Linked DNA regions of Homo sapiens: regions 1, 2 and 3 are each linked to region 4. The links are contacts of gene promoters, found by promoter capture Hi-C in blood cells and fetal thymus (Javierre and others, 2016). All regions are on one chromosome and are shown on one strand. Each heading gives the region's core, a stretch centred on a gene start or on the middle of the fragment in contact. The rest is flanking DNA. Distances are from core to core; before and after follow the strand shown.

What was found. Contacts are between HindIII fragments. The CHiCAGO score rates a contact against its expected background, and 5 or more counts as called.
Region 1: a contact is called between a fragment that was not itself captured here and the fragment with the promoter of RAN in region 4, in 1 of 17 cell types (monocytes). The highest score is 6.4, in monocytes.
Region 2: a contact is called between a fragment that was not itself captured here and the fragment with the promoter of RAN in region 4, in 1 of 17 cell types (megakaryocytes). The highest score is 5.9, in megakaryocytes.
Region 3: a contact is called between a fragment that was not itself captured here and the fragment with the promoter of RAN in region 4, in 3 of 17 cell types (total B cells, naive B cells and naive CD4 T cells). The highest score is 8.0, in total B cells.

Annotation. Positions count from the first base shown.
Region 1 is chr12:131,147,905-131,152,717 of GRCh38, reverse strand. No RefSeq gene overlaps it. Among named protein-coding and RNA genes, the nearest start is that of LINC01257, 15 kb to the left of the region's middle. The HindIII fragment of the contact is 4,819 bases long and covers 1,021-4,813 here.
Region 2 is chr12:131,351,586-131,356,118 of GRCh38, reverse strand. All of the region lies in intron 2 of LINC02370 (long intergenic non-protein coding RNA 2370), which reads right to left. Among named protein-coding and RNA genes, the nearest start is that of LINC02370, 6.4 kb to the right of the region's middle. The HindIII fragment of the contact is 228 bases long and covers 2,765-2,992 here.
Region 3 is chr12:131,129,858-131,134,778 of GRCh38, reverse strand. ADGRD1 (adhesion G protein-coupled receptor D1) reads right to left here. Exons shown (of 25, transcript NM_198827.5): 21 at 2,963-3,054. Among named protein-coding and RNA genes, the nearest start is that of LINC01257, 33 kb to the left of the region's middle. RefSeq lists an enhancer at 1,993-2,625. The HindIII fragment of the contact is 2,298 bases long and covers 947-3,244 here.
Region 4 is chr12:130,869,500-130,874,025 of GRCh38, reverse strand. It overlaps RAN (RAN, member RAS oncogene family), which reads right to left and starts at 1,960. Exons shown (of 7, transcript NM_006325.5): 1 at 1,900-1,960; 2 at 1,397-1,442; 3 at 1,106-1,190; 4 at 898-1,023. The coding sequence starts at 1,432. It also overlaps the pseudogene RNU6-1077P. RefSeq lists enhancers at 99-168, 1,397-2,158, 2,656-2,735, 2,159-2,920 and silencers at 1,446-1,655, 1,706-1,845, 1,916-2,375. The HindIII fragment of the contact is 6,850 bases long and covers 1-3,027 here.

The DNA.
Region 1 (4,813 bases), core at 2,181-4,680, 280 kb before region 4:
AGCTGGACCAGATGTACCACATGTGGTTTCCATTGCAGGCACCTGTGTCTGGACAAGGAATGTGGTGGTGTTCAGAAACTTGGAGACACCAGGAACTACAGAGCCACAAAGAGGGTGTCACAGCCCTGGCTTGGGGAGCTCCTAGGTCTGCACTCCCCAAAGGGCTACAGCTCTTCTCTCCTCATCCTCCACAACATGGCAAGTCGGGGGGGTGGCATGTTTCAGCCCTGTTTGTGTTACAGCTCTTTCAGTTCCACCAATCAGCAGGACTGAGTTCTGGTCCCGCCAGGAAGCATTAAGTACTCAGACAACTGGAAGGTCAGCAAGGCAGAGATGAGCTTCATTGAGTAACAGAACAGCTCTCAGGAGACCTGAAAGGGTAGCTTCTTTCTGCAGGCAGGTCATCCCAAGTGTCCAGCTCTCAGTAAACAGGAGAGCCACAGTGGGTAGCTCCTTTCTGCTGGCAGGTCATCCCAATGACTGTACAGCTCTCAGCGGAGAGGAGACCCACAATGGGTAGATCCTCTCTGAAGCTGGTAGTCCCAACATCTGTGTGAGTCTGACGGAGTCAGGGGTTTTTATGGGCTCAGAAGGGAAGAAGTGTGTGCTGCCATGGGCAGGCCCAGAAAAAGCACCATGAGTTCTCACTCCAGGCCACGGACTCCACCCGGCACTGGCAGCCTGGACCTCATGCTTCAGGCCGTCCATCATTTTTCCAGAGTTGAGTCCAAGTTCCAGGGAGCTTCTGTAGCACCAAAGTATCAAGAAGTGGAATCGGATCCCCACTTCTGTAGCTGAGAGCCTGCACACTGCTCATTCCTCTCTCAGTATTCTCCAAGTCCCTAGAAAGACAATAAAGAGGGAAGAGAATGGGGGAAGAGAACATTTCCAATGTAGTTAAAGCGCACCTTGGTGACATGCCAGGAGAGAGCTGGCAGCCAGAGAATGGGAACTGTAGCTTGTTCCTGCCATGGTGCCAGCAGGCAGCCTATCTTCCAGGGTGAAGTATTCACCAAAGCTTCACCCCACCTGGGGGAGGGTGGTCCCTCCTCCCAGCTCCCTCAGGTCTTTTTATCTACACTAAGCGGGGAAATGCTGTCACTGGAGTAACTTGTGAGGGTTACCACCCTAGACACAAACCCACTAAAAGGCTGAGATTTATTGTAAGATGATAGAACATTTCTCCTACCCCACACATTACCCCCATGACAACGAGAATACAGAACAACAGGAACTGACTACAGCTGGAAGAGATGCAAGATGCAGACTCTATGAGGAGTGTACAGGAAAAGTCCGAAGTCAAGAATAAAGACAAAAGCAAGGACACTAGAGGAATTTGAAGCCTCTGGCACCTACAGCTACAGCAAACATTAAACAGCCCAACTCCTAGCCAGGTAACGTAAGCCTTGATGTTAAAGTCCTCGTTACCTCAGTTCCTGATACCCAGTACAAAATGTTCAGCTTCTAACAACAATAACAACAAAAATTGCAAGACTACAGATGACAAGAAAAAAACCAACCAAGCATTAGAACTAGGTTCCCATATGACACAATGTTGAAATTATCAGACAGGGAATTTAAGATAACTAGGATTAATATGTTAAGAGCTATAATGGAAAAAGTACACAACATGCAAGAACAGATGGCTAATGTAAGCAGAGCTGTAAAGACTAAGAAAAAATCAAAATGAAACACTAGAAATAAAAAACCCTTTAACAGAAATGAAGAATGCCTTTGATAGGCTCGTCAGTAGACCAAATGCCGCTGAGGAAACAATCAGTGAGCTTGAAGATAGGGTCATAGAAATTTCCCAGACATAAATGCAAAGAGAAAAAAGATTGGAACAAATAACACCCAAGCCTGTGAGGCAACTGTTAAAAAAAAAGTAACGTGTAATTGGAGCATCAGAAAAAAATTAGAGGAAAGGGTTGGAAGAAACATCTGAAATAATAGTAACTGAGAACTTTCCAAAATTAATAACAGATACTAAGCCACAGATCCAGAAAGCTCAGAGAATACAAAGCAGGATAAATACAAAGAAAATCTTGATGTTTCATATTAAAATTGCAGAAAGCAAAGACAAAAAGAAAATCTTGGTCAGAGGAAAAAACGCCTTACTTATAGATGAGCAAGAATAAGAATTATAGCAGATTTCTTGTCACAAACCATAGAGGCAAATAAAGACAGTGGAGTGAAATATTCAAGTTATTGAAAGAAAAAAATCACCAATGTAAAATTAACATAATAGCCAGCAAAATGATTCTATAAAGGTGAATGAGGTTGGATGTGGTGACTCATGCCTGTAATCCCAGCACTTTGGGAGGCTGAGGCAGGTGGATAACTTGAGCTCAGCAGTTAGAGACCAGCCTGGGCAACATAGTGAGACCCCATCTCATAAAAAAATAAATAAAATAAAATAAAATAAAATAGTGAAGGAGAATAAACACTATTTCAGACAAAACTTGAGGGAATTAGCCAGCAGAACTTCCCTGTAAAAAATGTATAAAGAATTTCTCCAGAGAGAAGGAAAATGATACAATCAGATGTAAACTTAGATCTACATAAAGAATGGGAGAGTATCAGAGAAAAATAAATGGAGGTGAAAGAAAATGTTTACTTTTTTTTTTTGTTCTTGATTGATCTAAAAATAGCTGTTTAAACTTATAGCATCAATGTATTAGATAATTATATACCACATAGACAAGTGAACTGGATGATAACAGGGCATGGGGCCAGAGGGAATTGAGATACAGTGTTGTAAGATACCTGTATATCTGTGGTATACTCTTATTTGAAGATGGATTTAGATTAGTTAAAATCTATATTACAATCTCTAGGGCAATCACTAAAAATAAAATAAAAACTAGTTAAAAATAGACATTGGGCATGGTATCTCATGCCTGTAATCCCAGCACTTTGGGATGCTGAGGTAGGAGAATCACTTGAGTCCAGGAGTTTGAGACCAGCCTGGTCAACAGAGTGAGACCTCATCCCTACAAAAAAAAAAGGTCAAAACTTGCCAGGTGCAGTGGTGCACACCTGTAGTCCCAGCTACTTGGGATGCTGAGGCGGGAGGATTGCTTGATCCCAGGAGGTTGAGACTGCAGTGAGCTGTGATCATGCCATTGCACTCCATCCTAGGTGACAGAGTGAGACCCTGTCTCTAAAAATTAATTAATTAAAAGTATACACATTGGAATTAAAAAGTAAGTCTAAATTCTACCAAACATTTAAATAAGAAATTATTCTAATTCTAAAAGTCAAAATAGATGGAGACATATTCCATATTCATGGATGGGAAGACTCAATATTGTTAAGAAATGAATTGTTTAAGATTGACCTGTGGATTCATTGAAATCCCAATCAACATCTCAGCAAGGTATTTTGTAGATATTGACAAACTGATTCTAAAATTTATGTGGAAAGGCAAAAGGCCTAGAATAGCCAATACAATTCTGAGGAAGAACACAGTATGGGGACTCATACTTCCTGATTTGAACAATTACCATAAAGCCAAATAATTAAGACAGTGTGGTATTGGAAGGAAAACAAATAGACACATATGTCAGTGGAATAGAATGGAGAATGCAGAACTATAACGATACAAGTATAGTCCATTGATCTTTGATGAAGGAGCAAAGGCAAGTCAATAGTGAAAGGAGAGATCTTCGAACAAATGAGGCTAGTACAACTGGATGTCCATTAAGACATCCACAGGCAAAAAGAATGTGTCTTGACTTCAGCTTCACACCTTATGCAAAAGTTATTTTTTAAAGGATTCTATATTTAAATTTAAAGCTGAAACGATAGCCCTTTTAGAAGAAGATCTTTTGGATCTAGGTTTTGCTGAAGAGTTCCTAGACATGATACCAAAAGTACAATTGACAAAAGACAAAATTGATAAATTGAACTTTATTAAAATAAAACTTCTCTTTGGCAATTTCTCAAAAGAAGTCAAAGCAGAATTACCATTTGACCCAGCAATCCCTTATTGGGTATATACTCAAAGGAATATAAATTGTTCTACCATAAAGACATGTGCACATGTATGTTGATCACAGGACTATTCACAATAGCAAAGACATGGAATCAACCTAAATGCTCATCAGTGGTAGACTGGATAAAGAAAATGTGATAGATATACACCACAGAATCTTACGTAGCATAAAAAAGAGTGAGATCATGTCCTCTGCAACAACATGGATGGAGCTGGAGGCCATCATCCCAAGTGAACTAACAAAGGAACAGAAAACCAAATACCATATGTTCTCACTTATACGTGGGAGTTAAACACTGAGCACACATGGACACAAGGAAGAGAACAGACAGTGGGGGGCCTACTTGAGAGTGGAGGGAGGGAGGCAGGTGAGGAGTGAAAAATTACCTTACTGGGTACTATGCTTAATAATCTGTATATCAAACCCCTGTGACATGCAGTTTACCTGTAACAAACCTGCATTTGCATCCCTGAACCTAAAATAAAAGTTAAAAACATAAATAAATAAAACTTTTGCTCTGTGAAAGACTCTGTTAAGAGAATGAGAAGGCAAGCCACGGACGAGAGGAAAATAATTGCAAAACACATATCTAATAGAGGAAGTGCTCCTCTCTCACACACACACACACACACACAGTGGCATGTCAGACGGACACAAGATCCAACTGAGAAAGCTCTCAATGGCCAAAGCTGGAATAATTTGAGCAACAAAATCATTAAAGTAGTATTGGATAATAATCCATCAAGTAAGTATCCATGAGTCTGTACTGATATCAATGGCTGAATTAATTAATAAATGGGGAAGAATAGACATGT
Region 2 (4,533 bases), core at 1,629-4,128, 480 kb before region 4:
GTCCACTGCTGACGTTTGGGCCTCCCAGAAGAAGCTGCCCCATGCAGTCCTGAGGTCCATGCTGTTGCCTGGGCCTGCAAGTGGAGCCATCTGCACCAGAGATGGGAATGCCGCTGCTCTGTGATGGACGTGCAGCAGAGAGCTGCAGAGAAGGCCCCTCGGTGTCATGAGAGGGGGCTCCTGCAAAGCCAGCCCCGGGCTTCCCCAGACATCAGGCGAATGAAGCTCATAGCGGCCTTTACTCCAAAAGCTGTCCTCAGAGAGGGCGTCCGTGGCCTGCAGACCAGTGACAACCAAGGGAGGACACTGCGCTCCTGGCCACCTTCTCGACCCCTTCCAAAGCCTGCCTGGCCTCACTCTTGTATGTCAGCATCTCCCTTCCCAGCAAACGAGTGAAGACACTGATAGAAGAGTTTCATTAATAATTGTCCTTTTCCAGGCAGCTTTTAAAACATATTTTCCCTCCATGAAAGCCTTAAGATAAATGGCACGTCGGCAGTGCCAGCTCCCGCTCCAGGGCTCTTTGTAAGGAGTGGGGCTGTTTATCAACCGCCAGTCACCCCGGCCTGGCACAGCAGGGAACAGCGGCCTCTCCCCATGATGTGCTCTGTCCAGGCTGCCCCCCTTCAGCTCAGAACGATGGAACGTGTGTTTCGGCCGCGCGTCAGTGTGGGCTCCGTTCATTCCTACCAGCTTTGTTTCTCAGTAGCTGGGAAATACAATTTATTGTAAACCTTGCATTATTTTGTGGATGATTAACTGGAATCATGAGCAATTTATTTCCAGAGAATATGTAGGCCTTCCCAAGGCTTCCAAACGTGCATGAAAGCCAATACCAGTGCTTCTTCATCAGCCTACCTGCATCTCCCTGAAACCTGTTTCCTCCTCTTCAGACAAGATCAGAAGACCAATTCTTTTTTATTTTTATTTCTCTCTCTCTCTCTCTCTCTCTCTCTCTCTCTCTCTCTCTCTCTCTCTCGGTCTCTCCCCAGAGCCAATCCATTTGCAAATCTTGTCATCTCCAGCTCCAAGATAGATCTGGAAAAAATGTCCTCCCTCCATCTCCACTGCCACCGCTGTAGTCTGAGCAACACTTATTTCCTGCTTGGACCAGTGCAGTAGCCTGAAAACTCATTTCTTTCCATTCCCACCTCTCTCTGCAGTGCAGCCTGGGAGGCCCCTCGGGGGGCAGAGCATGTTGCACACTGTCTTGCCTCCCCATATTACCAGTGGCCAGGGCACTTAGCAAAAGCTAGACCCTTTCCCCTGCCTGTAAGGCACACGGGGCCTGACCCCTGCTGACCTGCTGCAGCTCTGGCCTCCTCTCCTTGCCCTCAGCCTCCTTTCTGCTCTTCACAGGGCCACACTGGTTTCTGCTGCATGACCTTTCCCTGGTGATGCCGCTGCCTGGTATGCACCTGCCCAGGTTTGCATGCTGTTGGCTCCTTGTTGGTGCCAATATCATACCCTCTAAGAGATCTTTCCTGGCTGCCCCAGCTCATAATGGCCTCTCCCCAGCCACATTGTTACATGGTCCATTCTGTTTCATCGACGGCCCTTTTGACAACTGAGGATTATCGTATTCATTTTCTCACATACTTGTATGTCTCTTCACTGGACCGGAACATAAGTTCCAGGAGAGCAGAGCCATGGCTCTCCTGGGGCTGTGTCCCCAGCGCCTGGGACAGAGCCTGGTACAGGGGGGTGCTTAATAACCAAATGTTGAATGAAGTCACCAGATCTCTCCCTTCAGTGGCTAGTGTGAGTTCAGACAAAGGAAGAAGACTTACATGAGGCTTACAGGGTTGAGGTCAGAAATAATTGAGATTCTGAACTTGCACGAATTCCAGCACTTCAGGAGCGTGAGAGCAGATCTGCACATATGCAGGGATGAACAGGGTGACCCCAAGGACTAAGCTCTCAGACTCCTCAGCAGAGGCAGGATGGGGACAGGGGTCGTGGTATGGGGGACTGCACATCGTGGTTGGAGGGCTGTCAGCTGATCACTCGTCCCACCTGGAACCCCCAGAACTTCTCTCTGCATTTCCCTTCCAGCTGCTCCCTCCCTGGGTGCACCCTTATTGCTTATGCAGCAGCATTTACAAGTGAGTCACCCCGAGTGGTTGCAGCAGGTGGCAGGGGCAGGTGAGTCAGCCCGAGTGGTTGCTGCAGGTGGCAGGGGCAAGTCAGTGACCCTGAGTTGCTGCTGCAAGGTGACGATGCTGCTGCAGGTGTAGATGATGGTCTTCAGTGATTGCTACAGAGGAGAGGGCACTTCACTATCTAGCTTTCAGAACATGAGCCTCAAGTTTCTTTTGCCTTGTTTCCTCTTCAGGGAAAACAGAGACAGAGATGGAGAAGGAGACTCCTGAGTTCATCAAGAAACACCTTGATCCAGCCTTGCTTGGAACGTTGGGGTAGATGAACAACAGGTATGTGGCCTTTTCTGTGTGGGCCACTGGGAACTGGGTTTCTGCCATTTGCAGAAAGAGGTTCCTGACTGGCATGCAGGCCCCAACCCAGGCTGAGCTTGAAGTGCAATGGCACACGTGGCCTCCCTTCCTGTCTGCCCACCTTCTTGGGGCCTATTGCTGTGGAGCTCCAGGGAGGCCCCTTCCCTGCTGGATGGAGCAGGGAGAAAGAATATCTTCATGGCTAATACTCCTTCATCATGTTGCTTTGAGGACACTCTAGCTGGCACTGAGAACCTGAGCTGTGGAGTCCCAATTCTATTCATTAGTAGGTGTGTGACCCAGGGCAAGCTTAACTTCTCTAAATCTAAATCTCTTCATCTCTAAAGTGGGAAAATAATGGTCTCCAGGCCTGCAGGTTGTTGTGAGGCTTAGGCAACGCTGTATATGCAAAGCATTTAGCACAATGTTCTGCACATATTAGATACTCAACACATGGTGTCTGTGTCAGTAAGCAAGTTTCTCTCTAAATAACTGCACACATTCATACAATACATGATGACTCAAATCCAATAGAAGCTTATGTCTTGCCTTTATGGCAGTCCAAGTGGTTATGAGACAGGTAACTCTCTTCCATGGTGTATTTCTGAGACTCAAACCCCTTCCATGATGTGAATCACCATCTCATTGATGTCTGTGTCCTTCCAGGAGAATGGACAAGACATCATAAAGGCGGTAATCATGCTTCCTTCGGCCAGAAACGGTCCCCATCCCATCTATTGATGAGAACGCAGCCATGTGACCACATCTCCTTGCCAGGCAGGCTGGGCAATGTGGCTTCACCACGTACCAAGGAAGGAGGAGCAGCAACTGGTGAGCATACAGCGCAGCACCCACTTGTGGTGCCAGACCATCAGGTAAGGCCAGACACAGCCGGGCAGCCTGGCAGCAAGGACAACGAAACCTGGAGCTGGTTTATCGGTGACGAGTGGAATCTGTTTCCTGAAGAGCCTGAGAAGGCAAAGAGCCTCCTCTGCGGGAAGACGGGAGTGAGGGGCTGACTGCCGGCATTCCAGGACAAGAAATTCTGCCCCTCCGGGGTGCATCCTCCTTCTTCCATTCTCATGGAAGTGGTCAGCGACGTCAGGAAGCTCACTCCGTGTTTTCCAAGGAAAGAACACTGGTCCTGGAATCGGCCTGCCTCTGGTTCCAGCAGGCCCGGCCAGGCCATCCCGGCACCTCCGCTGGCTTCTCCTCCAACCCATCAGGCTTGGTCAGTCCTTCTCTTCCAGCGACCTCAGAGTGGCAGAGCCATTGGTGCAGCTATAAATGACTGATGGCCCGGTTGTGTTGGAGGAATTGTAAACACCATTCATAATTCATCGGGCGGGCATGTGCTTTGCATTTAGAATGGCTGGTACCCGCAGCCTGCTGCGGAGCTGCAGGGAGACCTGGTGGACGACGTCCCCTGCACCCTCCAGGGCCAGTGGCTCAGCCAGGATTCAGGGAGGCTCTAGTGGCTGGATTAACTCAGGGCTTCAAGGCTGGCTTTTCACAGAGCTCCATGTTTGAGGTATTAGCTTATCACCTGTTACTTAATTTTTTCCTTTCCATCAACTACCTTATTTTACATAATTCAATTTTAAAAAGGAAAATTTGCATCATTTTCCAAAATGAAAATCAGTATCTACTGCCCTTAATATCCAGTCCCAGCGAGGAGGAGGAAGTGCATCTCTGATTGGCTTGATTTGGTTGTGTGCCCATCCCTTATCCAATCACTGTGATGAGAGTGTGTGTAACTCTGATTGGCTTGATCTGGTCATGTGGTTACATGTTATCCAATCACTGTGATGAGGATGTTTGGGACTATGATTGGCTTGATTTGGTCATGTGCCCACCTCTTATCCAATCACCATGATGAGGCTGGGCTGTGTATGACTCTGATTGGCCAGTAATAGGTCACATGCTCACTGGTGATGTGACGGGCTGGGTCAAAGTGCAGGTCACTTTCTTCAGGGAAATCCTGATGTTGTGACAGGAGGAAGAGGAAGAGGAGGGACATGTCAAATAATATCGCCCACGGTTCTGTTCTCTAAATGTTCCTCTTTCTCCCACACTGCTG
Region 3 (4,921 bases), core at 846-3,345, 260 kb before region 4:
CCATGCAGCAGTGCTGCACACAGATCTGGCACCTCCCCGGAGGAGGTGAGATGCGGCCATAATGAGCTTCCTTGTCAAGAGACCAAGAGCCTGGCACTGACAGCTCCGGGCAACCGGTGCCTGTAAAACCCAGAAGTGTTCCAGCACTTCAGCTCTCAGAGAAGCCGCAGCCAGCTTGTTCTCATAATGCTAATGCAATAAAAATAAAACACCTGTTTCTGGGAAACAACAATATCATGCATTATTCAGCTACAATCTTTAGGTCCCGGGAAACCGTATCTGAAAGGATCAATCACTGAGAAATAAGTACCAAAATGTGCTACTTTTAAAGTGATGGTTTGACTTTTCTTAAAATGAACAATAGAAGAAGATCTTGGGGGAAGACGCTGAGCTGAAGCTCTGCGGACTCTCAACACGGCCAGAGCTGTCAGTGTCCCTGGTCAAAAGCAGAAGAAGAGGGGTCCCTGGATCTGAAGGAGGCTCTAGGCAGGGGGTGTGCTTTCCTCTCTGATCTATGACCCCCTTCTGCTCCCCCAAGGTTGGCCCTGGCCTAGGGGGCTCAGGCCCTGAGTCTCCAGGCCCCACAGCCCACCTGCTCGTGGGTGCACTTCTGTGGGGGTCTCACCCTCACGCCCCCGCCCCCAGGGTCCCACTTGTAAAACCTGACCATTCTCTGCTTCTTTTTCAGGAGTCTGGAATCACAATCAATAAACAGAGACTTTTTTAAAAAGTGAAAGCCAGGCTTCTCCCCCTGCTCAGACCTCACTTATTCTATTCTCCACTTTTCTTGGGGTAGGGGGGTGGCAGGGAAGTGAAAGCCAACCCTGTGGAGGGCCCCTGAGGAAGAATCTTATCTTGTTATTCACTGAGTACTGGGCTGCTTGGCACTAAGAAAATCACTAGAATAAAACCAGAGGATGAAGAATAGCAAGGTGCTGGGGAAGCTTCCTCACGATGCAGTGACTGCCTCTTCCTGCCTGGCGCCTGCTCCCTGGCTGTGCTTCCTCAGCCCTGGGAGTCAAGTGTTACACAATCCACACTAAGAAGATTGTGAGGAAGCATCCCTGAGGGGCAGACCTGGCCGCCCAAAGGAGAGGAGCTGAAGGCATTGGGAAATGTGCTGGGTTGCACAATGGAGAGGGACCCAGAGCGGTCTGTCCCCAGAGATGCCTGCCTGCACCTCCCCGGAAGGGACGCATCCCTGGGCTGCCAGGTGCAGACGCAGGTGGGAAGGATGGGCAATGCCTTCAGCTGTGCCCTGCAAAGACCTGGGCATGCTCTCCCGGGGCACGCTACCTCGAGCCTTCACAAGAGCTGCAGACACAGTGCCAGCCTGTCGCTTGGAGGACATTTCCATGGAGAAGCAAAGGCAGTGGACAGAAGCTGCTTCCTGGGTGGGCACTGATGGGAGGATGGGGCGCAGTGGGGTAGAGATGGAAGGCGGTGCACAGGTGCGGGGCAGGTGCACAGGGGTGTTCTGGTGACAGTGGAAGTAGTGGCCTCATGGGGCTCAGACAGGGGATTGTGAGCTTTTGCTGGAGACAAGCTGGCAACAGACTGGCTGACCCTGAACGCTGAGGTGAGGGCCTGGGGAGCTGAGGGCTGGGGTGAGGAAGGGACAGGTCCCTCCCCAGCCAGGCCATGAGAGGTCCAGGAGACCATCCTGGTCTCAGCAATGGAAGAGGAAAGGACGTGATCTCTGACCCCACGAGCATCTCTTCTCGCACGGGGCACAACCCTTGAAGGTTTCCAGGAGCTGAACAGCCCAAGGAGGCTGCAGCCTCTTGTCAGGTTAATTTATGGTGTTTGGAATTCATTACAGACTAATTCTCTCATAGATTCGCTGCTGACATATTTGCCACTTTTGCTTTCACATCAGAACAGATACGCGGTGGCTGAAGTAACAGTACAGAATGTCAGCTGCCTGGTACCCACGCCCTGCTTTTCACAAAGCCCCTGAATTCCCTGCGAGGGACAGCCTCCCCAGCTTTCAGCCCTGTGGTTTGGGGGTGCTAACTGAACAGTCACACGGTCATATGAGTGAATCCCCCTCTACAGGGTCTGGCTCAGGGAGGGCACAGGTCCAGCCTGAGTCCCCATCGTCCTCCAGGCGCAGGCCTCCGTCTCAGCAGGTGGGACAGGGACTCCCCCGTGGGCCTGAACCCCTGCCGCAGCCATTCGGCCACCAGGGGGCAGAGTCGACCTCGGCCTGAAGCCAACACTAAGGATGCGAAGGCGAGCTGGGCCCGGTGCTGCAACTGCCAAAGAATTCCTGCAACGCCAGGGCTTCTGAGCTCCGGACTTCACAGTCAGCTGCGTCAGTGAGTCCCCCTTCTGCTTAGGCCAGTGCATGCTGGGATTTCTGTCACCTGCAATCGGCTGGGCCGTAAGAGATGCAGGTCAGGACACCCCCGATGGCAGTGAGTTGTGTGGCTGGAATCCCTCCCAGAGACCCCGCCCCTTCTCCAGGCGGGGCAGCCCAGAGCACACCAGGACACTGCTCTCCCTTGCACCTTCCCTGATGTGCCAGCTGAGGGGGAACCTGTTATCATCCCGTTCTGCACGTGAGGAAGGCGAGGTGCTGAGGGGCTAAACTCGCTGAGCCCAGCAGATGGCCAGGGCAGATGCGGGACTGGCAGGGGCTTTCTGGCTCTAGAATCTTCCCCGTTGCCGCCCCCCAGCTGCTCATCACCCTGGGGTGAAGAAATCCCTAGGAGAACTCCGTAGACTCCGTTCTTCTACACATGGGAGCTCTGGGGCTGGGTAAAGGCCCTGTCCTGGGTCACGAGAGCCAAGCGAGGGCGTGAAACCAGAGCTGCCCTGAGATGGCAGGGACACGGAGCAAGTGGAGGACTTTGGTGCCGGCCACAGGAGGCAGGAGTGGCTATCTCTCCTGTGACCTCAAAGCATCCTCTGGGGGCAGAAGGGCCGTGGCACTGCTGGCAGCCTGAGGTCAACTTACTTGAAGGCACTGGGGTCTCCATGGATCTTGTAGTTGTCGGCGCTGATCTGTGAGATGACTCTGGTCACAGCGATGAGGATGCCAATGTTGACCTGCACAAGAAACCATGGAGGAAGGTGAGGGGGGCCTGGGCTGCACCTGCAGGAGAGCTGCGTCCGCCTGGCCACTGCCCTCACCACAGGCTACCCCTGCCCAGCCAGGGCTCCTGGGACACAGGGGCATCACTGGGACAAATCTCACCCTGTTCCGTGGGCTTTTACCAACACACACAACATGCAAGCTTGCCTCTGAGAGCACCTGCACTGAGAAGACAGCAGAGACGAGTTCTAGTCCCAGGAACACATCCGGGCATGAGGGCATGAGCCTGGGCCAGACCTCATCTTAGCATTTGCTTCGTTAGTGTGACCCTGGGCAACTCACCCAGGTCCTCGGAGCCTCAGTGCCCCAGGTGATGAGAAGGATAGTGCCCACTGTGCAAACGACTGCTCAATGTGCCAGGCCCCGGCACAGGAGCTGGCTCTCATCTCCCGCCCCGGCCCAGGCCTGCGGCTGTGCGAGCCACAGAAGCTGCGGCAGAGGGGCATCATCTCCTGCCAGCACCCCTCCTTGCTGGGAAACTGCTGGAAGGCTCCTGTTGGGACCTATGGGGCTGGGCGGGGCACTGAGGGGCCCCGGCAGAGGCTTCAGCACAACCTGCCCCTCACCTGGGCAGCTCCCTCAGTAGGAGGCTGGCGAGGCAGGCACAGCATGGGGAAGAACCCCCTAGTGTCCTCTGGCTGCGGGGTTAGGGTGAGGGTTAGCCTTCTCCCTTGTGTCTGAAAAATTCTGAGGCCGTGTACAGAGTCAGCAAGGAGTCCAGTTCCAGGATAAAGTCCTCTGTGTGAACTCTCAGGCTCGAACTTTCAGGCAATGAACAGGGCTCTACCTCGCCGGCCTCACAGGGCAGCTGCTGTCCCCACGCCAGCCTGGGCGCGGCCAGAGCCTGGCAGTCTCTGAAGGGAGCTGCAGTCGGAGGGCAGCCACTGGGGCCCCGCACGGGATGGCCAGCTTCGCTCTCCCCCCGCACGGGATGGGCCGGCCTCGCTCTTCCCCCGCACGGGATGGGCCAGCATCGCTGTTCCGCACACCTGCACCCCTCGCCTAGGTGCCCGCGCCAGGCCTTTCTGAAGCAACTGCTGAGCCCGCCTCACCCTAGGGGCCTTGAAGCCACCTTCTGTGCCCAGGACTTTTCCACTGTGAGCCCTTCCCCTTCCTCCTCGCGCAGCTCCCGAGCCCATGAATCAGCAGGAGCCCTCCGCCCAGGGCTCTCTCAGCAGGAGACCGGCCCTGTCTGCACGGAGGCTTCAGACCCTCCTGGTGCTGTTCTTTGGGAGAGAGTGGTGCGTGGTGGGGCCGCCCCCTCCTGCCTAGCCCCTTAGGACACTATTGTGGCAGTGAGCACCCCAACTGTTCCCTCCTCGGCTCCTGTCTTCACTGACCACCTCAACACCTGGAAGCTCAGCTCACGCCCAGCTCAGCTGACAGTCGGATGCACCTTAGTTGCCCTTATTTTCCCATCTGTAAAGTGAGGCTAATAACAGAAGTGTCCAAAGGCCAGGGAAGGGAAAAGAAGTCAACACATTAGCCACCCAGCATGGTGTCTGCACAAAGAGCATGTCCAGAAACGCTGATGCCCCCCAGCCAACCTCACTGTGTAACGACGAGAAGAAAGCCACACTCAACTAGGAGCAGCAAGCGGGAGCAGCGTGGATGACAGGTCAGTGGTTTTCAAATGCAGTGATGATTCAACTAGGACAGTGACAAACGCGTGACTAATGTGCAGTTATTACTTCGAGTGGGGATTTCAATTGCAGATGGCTGATGGTCACTGATGTGTGAGTGCGGCCCATGCCCTCGGGGCAGGCTGGCCTTGGCCATCTGCCTGGGAAGCACTTTCGTGCCTCCAGTGGTGGCTACAGC
Region 4 (4,526 bases), core at 711-3,210:
AAATACAAAAATTAGTCAGGCATAGTGGCACGTGCCTATAGTCCAAGCTACTCAGGATGCTGAGGTAAGAGGATGGCTTGAGCTTAGGAGGCGGAAGCTGCACTCCAGGTTGGGCAACAGAGCGAAACCCTGTCTCAAAAAAAAATTAAATAAATAAATAACCCAGATAAAGCCTATATATTCACCTGCAGGAATAACTATGGTACAGTTAGCAAGGCAAGAAACCACAACTTTTTGGTTAAAGGATTCTTTTGGGGGAAATTCTTGTGTTTATTTGTACATGCTCAAGGAAAGCAAAAGGCATGGAATGATTCCAGATAATGTGTTATCGGCAACGTGAGGTTCCAAGAGAGATGAGTATTTTCTTGATTCCTCTTTTTGGTACAATGAACATTTTCCTTGCAATTTTTAAATCAAACTATTTGAGAAAAATACTCTGCACAACTTAGTACAAACAATTTAACAAGAAATCAGCTAGTCTTGTATAACACTTGTTAAGATCTCCTATCTCCTCTGGTCTAGTATCTGGTGTTTATTGTTTTCTAATACAGTAAAAACATTCATTGATCACCACACCAAAATACATACATGAACCTAAGTTTCCAAATACTGAAACTGCTGTTAACAGCCTATTATTGTTTTAAATATGACTTATAAGTCCCAGTGTAAGTCATAGTTTTTTCTAAAGCATGCCTAGCATGACACAGCATGCAAATGACACAACTTTAATAAAATTTTCTCTGCCACCAAAATGGTGGTCAACTCCCCGAAGTCCACTTGTCTTTTTTTAACCCAAAAATGACACTATTTGTTGGAACAGACCTGATTTTCTATAACCTTGAAGACTGAAGTACACAAAACCTCTCAAAAACCGTTCAGCAAGTTACAAATGCCTACCTTGGATATAATAGCCATCTCTCAGTCCACCGAATTTCTCCTGGCCGGCTGTGTCCCATACATTGAACTTAATAGGTCCTCTGTTGGTGTGGAACACTAGGGGATGAACCTCAACACCCAAGGTGGCTGAAACGGAAACGATGCGATTGAGTGGATGAACTTACCCATTTCTCACATATTTCCACAAGCAAGGTTTTCCAGCACATACCTACATACTTCTTCTCAAATTCACCAGTCAAATGACGTTTCACGAAGGTCGTTTTTCCAGTACCACCATCACCAACCAATACAAGCTGTTGAAAAACACATTTTGGAAGTAAACCCTAAACACTTCACCTCTCAAGATCCCAGAGTCACGGAACTTTAACCACCACAGGCTCACTTAAAACAAAGAATGTGGATGCGGGGCCCCATTACAGCCATCGTGGCCCCAGGAGGAGGGACCCGCGAGTCGCACGCGGTCGGGCTCGGCCGCCTCCCGCCCCGCAGGGTTACCTACTTTGAACTGGACCTGGGGCTCTCCCTGCGCAGCCATCGCGGCGTTCCTGCGGAGGCAGAGGACGGAGGCGAGCGCTCGCGCGGCCCCGCAGCCCATGGCGGCCCCGCTCCCGCGCCCCCAGCGCCCCACGTGCCCGCCCCACAAAGGCCTCCCGCCCGCGGCGCCATGGCGGCCAGGCCTGGGAGCGGGAAGGCGGCGGGCGGGGCCGGCATCCGGGGCGGCGGGGCCCGGGGAACGGCGGCCGGAGGTGTAGGGATGGGAACGGGACTGGGACCGGGACGGGGATGAGAGCGGAGGATGAAACGGGGGTTCGCGGGGGCTAGCGCCGACCCCACGCCCGTCTCCTGCCCCGGCCCGGCCGGGCCCGCACCACCCACCTACTCAGCCGCCCGCTGCCCCTGGGTCCGCCACCCGCCCCGGCCCTGGCCCCGGCTCCGACCCCTATCCCGCCGCCGCCACCCCTGTCCCCGCCCGGCCGTGCCGGGCCCGCCGGGTCGCGATACCTTCCAGAAGCGTCTCCGCGCCCGTCCGACTGAGGCTGGAAAGATGGCGGAAGCGCAATTCAAACGCCGGAGACGCAGCCGACGCCGGCGCGAGAGCAGGGGCGGGGCCGGCGCGGGGCGGGGTTGCAAGGGGCGGGGCAACGGCGCGGCGCCCGCCCACGTGGCCCGCGCGTGCGCGCACGCACGCAACGCGGTTCGGTCGGCCGCTCGGGCGGTCGCTGCGCTTAGGGTGGGGCGGGAGGCGCGGTGGACCGCGTGGGAGGGCGAGCCGGGAGCGCGTACGCAAGCCGGCCGGTGGGGACCGCGTGCGCCGACGCCCCGGGCGGGCTCCCGGGCGCGCATGCGCTGAAAGCGAGGCGGCGCGCCCCTGAGCGGGAGACGTTGGGCGCGGCCCGACGGTCGCGGCTCTCCTGCCTCCCGGGTGGGAGGCGGTACTCGCTCGGGCAGACGTGGTCAGGCACGCGGCTTCCAGGCGCTGGCCAGCCTGTCCTTGTCTGTGCCCCGTGGGGTGGGGGTTCTTGAGGTCCTGGGGCTTAGGGTGGCTCGCGTGCGCGCAGGACGGGTGGGTGACAGAACGAATGAATGAATGAATGGGGTCTAGGCCCGTCCTCCAGAGGCAGCCCGCTGTTCTGTCTCTCCAGATCGTAGCCTTCACGCCCCCAGGACCAGGGCCAGTTGGAGAGCGAGGAACCAGAGAGGGATGCACCCACCCAGAAAAACGGCTACTTATTTTTTTTAAGAGACGGAGTCTCGCTACGTTGCCCAGGCTGGTCTCGAACTCTCAGGCTCGGGCGATCCTCCCGCCTCAGCCTCCCGAGTAGCTGGGACTACAGGCGCGCACCACATCAGGGGTAATTTTTTAAAAATTTTTTTGAGAGACAGAATCTAACTATGTCTCCCAGGCTGGCCTCAGGGGATCCACCCGCCTCGGCCTCCCAAAGCGTCCGGCTTCTCAAAGCGTTTCATAGGTTGGCAGCTTTGGCCGCTGCATGCTACAGACAAAATGATGAAATACTGTTTGCAGTCTGGACGCGTCTACCAGCCCTAGTTACCAACGGGGACGGAATGAGTAAGTGCTCAGCTTCCCAGCCCCCTGTTGGCCTGAAGCTGTAAGAGCCCAAACAAGCTTGAGCTAGAGGGACCCGACTTCCTGGGCGCCCCTGCCGACATGCAGACAGATAAAGGCCCAAATCAGCGCAGTCAAGCGCCTCAGAAGAGTCCACCATGGGGAGAGAGCCGCAGTGACCGAAGAGTCCTCCCTGCAGTCCTGAGCACACTTGCAGGCGAGTCCGCTAGGAACCCCAGTGACGCAAATTAGGCACAAAGCAGGCGACAACCGGCCTGCTGGGAACGCAAGTCCGAGCTCCCCCAGAACCCTCAGGGGAACCCCAAGCACCTCTCAGACGCTGCTGGCGGGAGAGCAGAATCTAACAGTAAAACGGGAATGCCCATTGCTTGTGACCCCGGATTTCCATTTCTAGGGAGAGGCCCCAGAGTTAAACTCATGCCTCACGCATGTGCACAACATTTAATACTGTATAACATTTAAAAGGAATGACGGTCATCTGTTTCAACAGGGTTAGATAGATGTCAAAAGGATAGTGTTGAGAAAAGAAGAAAGAGGTGATAACAGCTTTATAAAGTCTAGGCCACCTGTAATCCCAGCACTTTGGGAGTCCGAGGTAGGAGGATCCCTTAAACCCAGGAGTTACAGGCTGCAATGGGCAATGATCTCACCATTGCACTCCAGCCTGGGAGACAGAGCAAGACCCTGTTTTCAAAAATTAATACATAAAACCTAACACTATATGTAACTTTATCTAGAGGGATTATATATATAGTATAATGTCATTTATGTATATTTTTTACAAATACACATAAAACAAAAGCATATTGGCTATTGGATATATGTATTTTGTTGTTTTTTTTAATTGACTGCAAGGATCTATATACCATATCCTGATGGTTATTGCTTCAAGAAAGGGTAGAAAGGAGTGTGATGGAACTGAGAAGAGGAGTCAAAGAAGACTTTAACTTTACCTGCAATGTTCTATTTCCTTTTTTTTTTTTTTTTGAGACAGCCTCACTCTCGCTCAGGCTGGAGTGCAGTGGTGCGATCTCGGCTCATTGCAACTTCCGCCTCCCAGGTTCAAGTGATTCTCCTGCCTCAGCCTCCTGAGTAGCTGGGATTACAGGCATGCGCCACAACACCCAGCTATTTTTTTTATTTTTATCTTATTTTTATTTTTAGTAGAAACAGGGTTTCATTATATTGGAATAGGTAATCGAGTGGTCACTTTGGCAGCACGTATACCAAAATTGGAATGATACGGAGAAGATTAGCATGGCCCCTGCGCAAGGATGACAATTTTTTTTCTTCTTCTTTTTTTTTTTTTTTTTTTTTTGAGACAGATTCTCGCTCTTGTCACCCAGGAACTGCGGAGAGAGGTCATAGAAGAGTTTAACCTTACCTGCAATGTTCCATTTCTTTTTTAAAAAATGGTAATCAGGGCCGGGCACGGTGGCTCACGCCTGTAATCCCAGCACTTTGGGAGGCCAAGGCGGGCAGATCACGAGGTCAGGAGATCGAGACCATCCTGGCTAAACCGGTGAAACCCCGTCTCTAC